Linked DNA regions of Homo sapiens: region 2 is linked to region 1. Evidence: promoter capture Hi-C in 16 types of primary human blood cells and fetal thymus (Javierre and others, 2016). All regions are on one chromosome and are shown on one strand. The core of a region is centred on a gene start or on the middle of the fragment in contact, and the rest is flanking DNA. Distances in the headings are between cores, read along the strand shown. Region 1 holds the start of EGR1 (early growth response 1). Region 2 holds the start of MALINC1 (mitosis associated long intergenic non-coding RNA 1).

Region 1 (3,994 bases), core at 479-2,978:
GGATCATGGGAACCTGGAAGCCACCCTTGGCGGCAGGGTAGGCAGGAGGCGGGTACTGGAGCGCTGTCCCTGCCGAGCCCGGGAAGGCCTGGCTTTGTGGCTCAGGGAAAATGTCAGTGTTCGGCGTGGGGAAGGTGGGTGCCGCTGAGTAAATGGGACTGCTGTCGTTGGATGGCACTGCGCAGCTCAGGGGTGGGCTCTGGGAGGCGGAGGCGGAGGAGGCCGCTGGAGATGGTGCTGAGGACGAGGAGGCCGGTGGGTTGGTCATGCTCACTAGGCCACTGACCAAGCTGAAGAGGGGCTCGGGCCACAAGGTGTTGCCACTGTTGGGTGCAGGCTCCAGGGAAAAGCGGCCAGTATAGGTGATGGGGGGCAGTCGAGTGGTTTGGCTGGGGTAACTGGTCTCCACCAGCACCTTCTCGTTGTTCAGAGAGATGTCAGGAAAAGACTCTGGCAGGAGAGAGAGAAGCGGGAGGCCTGGTTACTGGAAAGCAATCACTGGAGGACGAGGACGACCCGAGCTGCCAGGCAAGAGACCGGGCCGGCTACCATTGACTCCCGAGGTAGTTAATAATTGATAGCAGCACATTGCAATGTTCCTGGACCCGCACCAGTGGCAGAGCCCATTTCAACAACAGCTGACGCAAATACGGAGAATCCCCCTCCACTGCAGCTCGCAGCGCTCCGCAGCGGCGGCTGTGCGGGCGAGGGATTCCCGCCAGCACCCCCATGGCCGCGGCTAGTGCGCGCCCCCAAACCCGGGCTGCCGGGACATCCACGGCCAAGGATCACGGTCCTTCCTTGGGGACAGGCGGCAAGCAAGGCAAGGCAAGTCTTACTGGAGGTGGGGGGCGCAGCCCCGCTCATCAAAACAAGCCCTCCCCCTCCACCCACCCACGCAGCTCCAGAGCTCTCCATCCAAAACAAAAGCTCGGTCCTCTGCGCTCCGCTAGGGATGAGGGCAGGGGGTGGGCTGTGTGGGGTTCCTTGGCATCCCTCTAACACATGACTCTGGGGATGCGAGGAATGAAAGGGAAACCCGGCTCTCATTCTAAGATCCAGGAGCACTCCTGCGGTGAAGGACAGGACGCCAGGATGGTGGCGAAAGGGTTCCCCCTCGGCGTAGGCCACTGCTTACCTGCGGTCAGGTGCTCGTAGGGCTGCTCGCCCGTGTCCGCCTGAGGGTTGAAGGTGCTGCTGCTGCTGCTGCTGTTGCTGCCGCCCCCGCCGCCTCCACCGCCCCCGCTGCTGCTGCTGCTGCTGTTGCTGCCGCTGCCCTCTGGGGCCCCGGCGGCGCCGAGGAACTGGGGAGCCCCGTTGCTCAGCAGCATCATCTCCTCCAGCTTAGGGTAGTTGTCCATGGTGGGCGAGTGAGGAAAGGATCCGAACGGGTCAGAGATCTGCAGCGGGGACATCAGCTGCATCTCGGCCTTGGCCGCGGCCATCCTGGACGAGCAGGCTGGAGAGCTGGTGTCGGGGCGGGGGGGTGCAGCCCGGGGCTGGAGCTGCAGGGGACACAGTTGCGGGGGCCTGGCCGGGTTACATGCGGGGCGCGGGGAACACTGAGAAGCGTGCAGGCGGCGACCCCGACTCGCCCTGGGCGCGGGCGGGCGTGGACGCGCCGCGGCTGCGGAGGCTGGGGCAGGGGCCGGTCCTGCGGCGGCGGAAGCTGGCTGCGGCGGCGGATGGCGGCGGCGGCTCCCCAAGTTCTGCGCGCTGGGATCTCTCGCGACTCCCCGGATCCGCCTCTATTTGAAGGGTCTGGAACGGCACGGGTCCGCCTCCGTCGTGACGTACATGGCCATATATGGGAAGCAGGAAGCCCTAATATGGCAGGACCGGCCGGGAGGACCCGGAGTGACGTGAAGCCCCCCATCCGACAGCGCCCGGCACCTCCATCCTGCACCCTAGGGCCCGCGCCCGCGCCCGCATCCCAGGCGCCCAGGCTTCGGGGAAGCCTAGAGCTCTAGCCGCCGCCGGGGCCTCCGGGACCCGCGCAGCTCCGGAGTTCCCGCGTTGCCCCTCCCTCCGCCTTCTTCCCTCCTCCCAGAGCCGGAAGCGGCCGGGCCATATCGGGCCACTCCAAATAAGGTGCTGCCCAAATAAGGGTTGTTCCGGCGGGGGATCCTTCCTGCTCCTTATATGGCATTTCCGGGTCGCAGCTGGTTGCTCCCTCGCTCCCTCCCTCCTCCCTGGTTCCAAGCCGGGAGCCCGAGCGCTCGCGGGATCCGGGGACGCCCAGGCGGGGAGGGCTCGTGGCGTGTGGCGCTGGGCGCGCGGCTGCTCAGGCGGCTCCTAGGCGTGAACTAGGCTGGGGAAGCCCAGACCCAGAGCGGGGGCGAGGGCGAGTCGGGCCGGGGTTCTATCGCTGTCATCCAGGGCCCGCCCGCCCACCTCAGGGACCGTGAGAGCGAACCGGGAGTGCGGGGGAGGAGCGGCTGGGCCCGCCTGGGCAGGGGCCGCCCAGGAGAGGCGGGGCCTTGACCCCGGGCCTCGATCTATGGCACGGTGTCTTTCCGGGTGTCGCTGGGAAATTGAGGATAGGAAGTCACGGCCACTTGGTTCTTGGGACACTGTATAGCAGTGAGCTGCCTTGCCTCTGCCACCTGTCGGTGGGATGGGGCTGCTGGTGCCTGGGGTCCCCTGTGCTCCCCCGGAACCGAAAGGCTGTTCCCTAGTCCCCGCCGGCAAAGAGCCCACCTTTGGGGGACCGAAGTGGGGAAGCTGATTGCCCCAAGAGAGGCCTGATTCTTGTTCTCACCAGGAGATAATGGTCCTTGTGGTGAGGGGTCACTTTCCCCCCTTTATCCAGTCCAGGTGGAGGGCCGGCCCACACTGCGGGAATCCGAAAGAGGGGCTTCCCTATGGGCTGTCTGGGGACCCCGGGCTGGGCGCGAAGAGAGGACCGGCTTGGCGGCTCGGTGCTGCCCCCTGGAGGTTCCCTCTCCACTCCCAGCCCCGGACTCCGGCCGCGCGGGCTCTTCCGCCGCCTCCTCGCTCCTCCTCCCGGATGCGGCGCTGGGCGCGGAGCCAGGCCGGGGGAGCCTTCGACGCAGTGAGCACGAACTGAGCAGGCGCTGCAGCCCGGGCTCCCCCTGCAGTCCCTGGGGAGCCGTCACTGCCGAGGCGCCCAGACTCCGGGATAACACTCCTCACCCCGAGCCTGGCCAAGGCGAGGGGGAGAAGGAAGCAGGGGGTGGGTGGTGGCGAGGGAGAACGATTCCCGCAGGTCTCCCTGGGGCCGAACGCGAACAGGGAAGCCCTCCCCGCCCCCACGACGCAGTCAGTTGCTCACCCCAAAGGGAACAGGGATTCCGGGAAGGGAAGGCTCCTCCTGCTCTAGCTCTGAATCCAGAGGAGGTGCTGTTTTTTCTGGATTTAAAAAGAAAGCAGAAAGAGAATGTGGGGAAGGAGGGTGCTTGACGACACCGAGAGGGAAGGGAGGAGGTGAGGGCCTCTGTGAACCCCAACAGCCTCTGGAGGTCGGGGTCAGGGGGATTAGGTGGGGGAGGGTGTAACTTTCTTGGACTTAATCCCTCTGTGGCTGTCCCCCCTCCAAACATGTTTTCTTATAAAAACCAACTTAATGAACCAGGACTCCCTCGTCTCGGAGCCTGCCGTCTCAAGTCCGCTGGGGAGGTGGGGGGCTCACTCCCACTGTCTACCGAGTTGTCCATTGGGGCAGGAGTGATGCGCCTCTCAGAGGACTCCTGCCGCAAGGGCAGGAAGGCCAGGCTGTTGCAGCGCAGATGGCCTTGTGTCTGAATGTCCATTTTGCCACTCCCTGGTAGGGTACCTTAGCCAAATTTTTTTTTTAATGTTTTTATTCTTTCTGAGACGGGGTCTCACGCTGGCACCCAGGTTGGAGTGCAGTGGCGCGAGCTCACTGCAACCTCCGCCTCCCAGGCTCAAGTGATCCTCCAGCCTCCTCCTCTCGAGTAGCTTGGACTACAGGTGCCTGCCACCACGCCTGGCTTTTACTTTTTTTTTTTTT
Region 2 (3,853 bases), core at 1,210-3,709, 1.6 Mb before region 1:
TAGGAAAGACAAAGGGAAAACGAAATATACAGCAAATTAATATGCAGCAAAAATCCATGTTAATGAAAAACATCAAAAAGTAAACATTTCCTTTCTCCTCACAATATGCTTACAAAGACATAATGTCTCTAGATTTCTTGAGCCCTTTTATTATTAATACAACAGACACATTTTAAAGAGAATAGAGACTGCTTTATTTTTAATCCCACTGTCTCTATGTATTTAACAAACTCTTACCAACAAAAAATTGTGCGCAAAGAAATACACATTAGGCAGAACAAAAAAGAAAAAAGCTTTAATTTTCTTCAGCCTGACTACAGGTGATTCTGAAATAATCTAATTCAGTTTTGGTTTTATAAAGTAAAAATCAACACACATTTATAAAATAGACTTGGAAAGAGGTTGTCTACCTCTGGGTAGTAAACCCTTCTGATTATAGAGTTCCTAATAGAAACAATATGTTGATTAATATTTTACAAAATCACAAATTTCCAAAATAAAGAACATTAGAGCTTGTGTTTTCAAGTGATACTTAGATTAAATACCAGTCTTAAACCAGACAACTATCTTCAATACCCAAATCATTAAAACTAACTGGGATGTTGTACTGTAAATGTTCAAAGTGGAGGAATTAGCCATTTCTTCTCATGACTGTCTACCAAAAAAATTGAGAAACTCTCAAATAAATCTTAACATTTAACAACAACAATGACTAATAGTAACAGCATTTCCCAGATCGTTCTTTAAAAGCGTATTCCTTTTCCATAGCTCACTTAATCTTGAAAATCATGCCTCTTCAATGCTATTTTAATGTTTCGGATTAAAGATATGAAGTAAACATTTAATATATGAAGAGAACAATCCACTTGATAAAAATCCTCGCATTTCCAAAATGTTTTCATTTTAAGCATTTGCAGAAGTTAAATAAATGTAGCAGACATTCTAAATTCGATAAAAAATTCAGAGAACCCGACATTTTATGTACCCCAAAGGTCCAAACAGAACCGATGTAAATGTCAATAGCTGTCTCCCTTCCGGCTGATACTTAAATGGTTTTACTAGTACTCAAAGCAATGAAATCAGCAACTCTCTCTCCACACTCTAGTCAACACTCCAATTTCCAAAGCCGCAATTCGCAAACGTCAGTTGGGCGGGGGCGGTGGGGGATCTTGAAGTAATCCAAAAATTTCCTTTCCCCTTTGACAGTCCACCAAAAGATGTCAAACCAAATCCAGCCTATTGTAAAGCTCTGGGACCTCCCTTCCAAGGACACCGAACACAAGCTTAGACACCGCTGCGAAAAGCTGTCCAAAAGCGCCTGGCCGGACAGAAATGTAAGGAGCCCAGGCCAAAACGAATTAGAACCCCCAACAGAGGGTCCCGCAGACACCGCGGAAAAGAAGGTGGCATTTATTCCGGGGTAGACAGCTACGAACCAGTTACCCCAGCCAGTCTCTGGGGGCTCTCCAACCCAAGTTCAGGTTTATGGCAGATATATTGGTTGGGTGCCTTCCCCTACAAACATCACAGCCCGCCTCCGGGGCCCACCGCCGCTCACAGAGAAGACCCCTCAGCTTCACATCCGTTCCTTTTGCCCTCGGACAAAGGCAGAGGAGCTGTGGAGCTGACCCAGCGCTGTGGGGCAGTAAAAATGCCTTGTTCGGGCCACCCATCTTTGGGCCCGGCTTCATCTGCGATGTCAGCACCAAAGGTTTTTTTTTTTTTTTTCCTGGTTTTGTTTTGTTTTTACAACGCATCCTGGGCGGGTGTATGCATTTGGTGGTAGTGGGGTGGGGGGAACCGAACAGAGGAGGGGTTGGCAGTGAAGCCTGGGTTATAGAACTCTCCTTCCTCTCCCTCCTTCCAGGGTTGCCGTGCAGGGAGTGTCAGCCACGTCTAGCGCACAGTCCCAGGCCCCAGGGCGAAGGCGGCCAGGGGAAATGGGGCTCAGGGATTGCTAAGCAAACGCATCACTGGTGGTCTCCAGCGCCTGCGGAGGTAGGATCGCCTCTTTTCTTAAGGGGCGTGTTATTTTGTTCTCTTTTGAAAGTAGGAGGGGGTTCATTCGTTTCTCGCTGCGGGGGGTGGGAGAGAACGTTGCTGCACCGCCTGGGTCTCCAAGAGGGAGGGTGCGGGGATGTCTGCAATGGTACTATAATTATTCCTGGGCTGAGAGAGCAAGTAAAGGGGACGGGGCGAGCGTCACCTGGAGCTGTGGCAGTGGCAGCAGGGAAGGTCGCGAGGGGCTTACCCGGGCGGGCGGGCGCTGTCCTGCCGCAGGTGAGGGAGGGCGCAGGCTGGCGGGAGGGAGGGCGCGCGCGAGACAGGCGCGAGGAAGGGGGGAGGGGAGGAGGGCGCGCGCGCGCACACCTGTCCTGGACAGCGGCGCTAGCCGAGCTGCGCCTCACTTAGGCTCTGCGGGCTGAGGAGGAAGGAGGGCGGGCTGGCGGGCGGGGGCGGGACGCCGAGGGGAGGAGGAGGAGGCGGCTCGGATGGCTGGCTCGGCTCTCGCTCGCTCTCCCTCCCATGGGCAAGTCCGGCTCACACCCTGCTTCTCCCGCTCACTCACAGCCCCCTTGGCTCTCCCTCCTCCTCCTCCTTCCCCTGCGGGATCCGCTCGCCGCCGCCGCCGCCGCCGCAGACGGCAAGTCGTGGCAGCCAGACGTCGGCGCGTAACCCGGCGCTCCGTGCGTGACTCCAGGCGACGTCAGCGCGCGCTCCGCGTTCCCCACCCCTCCTCCCAACTCCGTGGCTCGCGCCCTTCGCTCTCGCGTCCCTCCGTTTTAGCTGCCGCCGCGGCGGCCGCCGAGCGCGCTCTTTCCGCCCCCTTCTCGCGCGTGAGCGCGCCCTATCGGCTCCTGGCGCGTCAACATTCCGCGGGCCAGGCCTTGGGGCGCGTCTGAGGAGGGGGATGTCTGTGGCCTCTCCGCCCACACTTCCTCCACCCACCGCCCACAGCGCCCCAGAAGGACCTATTACTCGTTTGGCTTCTGAAGGCCGAAGCCAGGCTCTGGCGGGGATAGAACCCTGAAGGGCCTGCGCCAGCTCCAACTTAGGGCCCTGTGCGTCGTTGCGACTTCTGCTACCACCCTATCACGCGGCACCCCCGCCCCAACTCCGCCCGGGTCTCTGAAGAGGCAATAGGCCTTTCATCTCCGGGGAAAGTCTCACCTTGGCCCTCAGACACCCGCCAAGAGGGGTCGGAAGGACAGAATTAGCATAGAGAAGAGTGGCTAGAGCACTTTTCAGGCTCTGGCCCCAGGAATCCTTGACAGGAAGCGTGGGGTTGCTGCCCAGCCTCCCACGCAGTGTAATATGTTGAAGCCGGGCCCCTTTGAGGGAATGCGACTTCCTTGGGCCGAGGGGGAAAGGGTAAAAGTTAATTTTCATAAAATGCTATGCAAGGGCTAAATGTGAAATTATAAAATGTCCTTTAAGACAGTCTTCTTGAAATCGTATCAAGTTTGACAAGATTTTTGGTGCACGGTAACGCTTTTGCTCGCTTTCTACGCTGTCACGTCTCCATCCTGCAACACTGAATACGTAGATGGAACGTGGATCAGCTAATAACTGCAGCAAAATAAAAACTGCATTTATCATCTTTATCATTATTTAAATAGACCTCCGAGAAGTCAAACTGTGATTTAGGAAAACTTAATCATTGCCTCAACCTATTTAACTATTTTGTTTTGAAGTTACTTTGCAAATATACCACAAAATCCCTCTTTGTTAGGCAGTGGTAGACTTTTAAACTCACTTGTTAGAGAATCTTTCCCAGAAGCATATCTAGTTGAGCCTGCGAGGCAAGTAGGACTAAGGTATAATTACTCCCATTTTACAGATGAAAATTTAG

The links. The method cuts DNA at HindIII sites, captures the fragments that hold promoters and counts their contacts. A CHiCAGO score of 5 or more calls a contact.
Region 2: the fragment with the promoter of MALINC1 here is called in contact with the fragment with the promoter of EGR1 in region 1 in 1 of 17 cell types (fetal thymus); the score reaches 6.0 in fetal thymus.

The regions. Positions count from the first base shown.
Region 1 is chr5:138,463,213-138,467,206 of GRCh38, reverse strand. It overlaps EGR1 (early growth response 1), which reads right to left and starts at 1,728. Exons shown (of 2, transcript NM_001964.3): 1 at 1,139-1,728; 2 at 1-450. The coding sequence starts at 1,445. RefSeq lists silencers at 1,475-1,684, 1,775-2,124, 2,135-2,534, 2,855-3,124 and enhancers at 990-1,829, 1,830-2,670, 1,743-2,942. The HindIII fragment of the contact is 6,642 bases long and covers 1-3,994 here.
Region 2 is chr5:140,106,618-140,110,470 of GRCh38, reverse strand. It overlaps MALINC1 (mitosis associated long intergenic non-coding RNA 1), which reads left to right and starts at 2,459. Exons shown (of 4, transcript NR_102741.1): 1 at 2,459-3,062. LOC124900193 reads left to right here and starts at 1,202. Exons shown (of 4, transcript XM_047417990.1): 1 at 1,202-2,687. The coding sequence starts at 1,486. The coding sequence ends at 2,412. RefSeq lists enhancers at 1,648-2,149, 3,260-3,359 and silencers at 2,300-2,559, 2,570-2,629, 2,660-2,729. The HindIII fragment of the contact is 3,432 bases long and covers 1,286-3,853 here.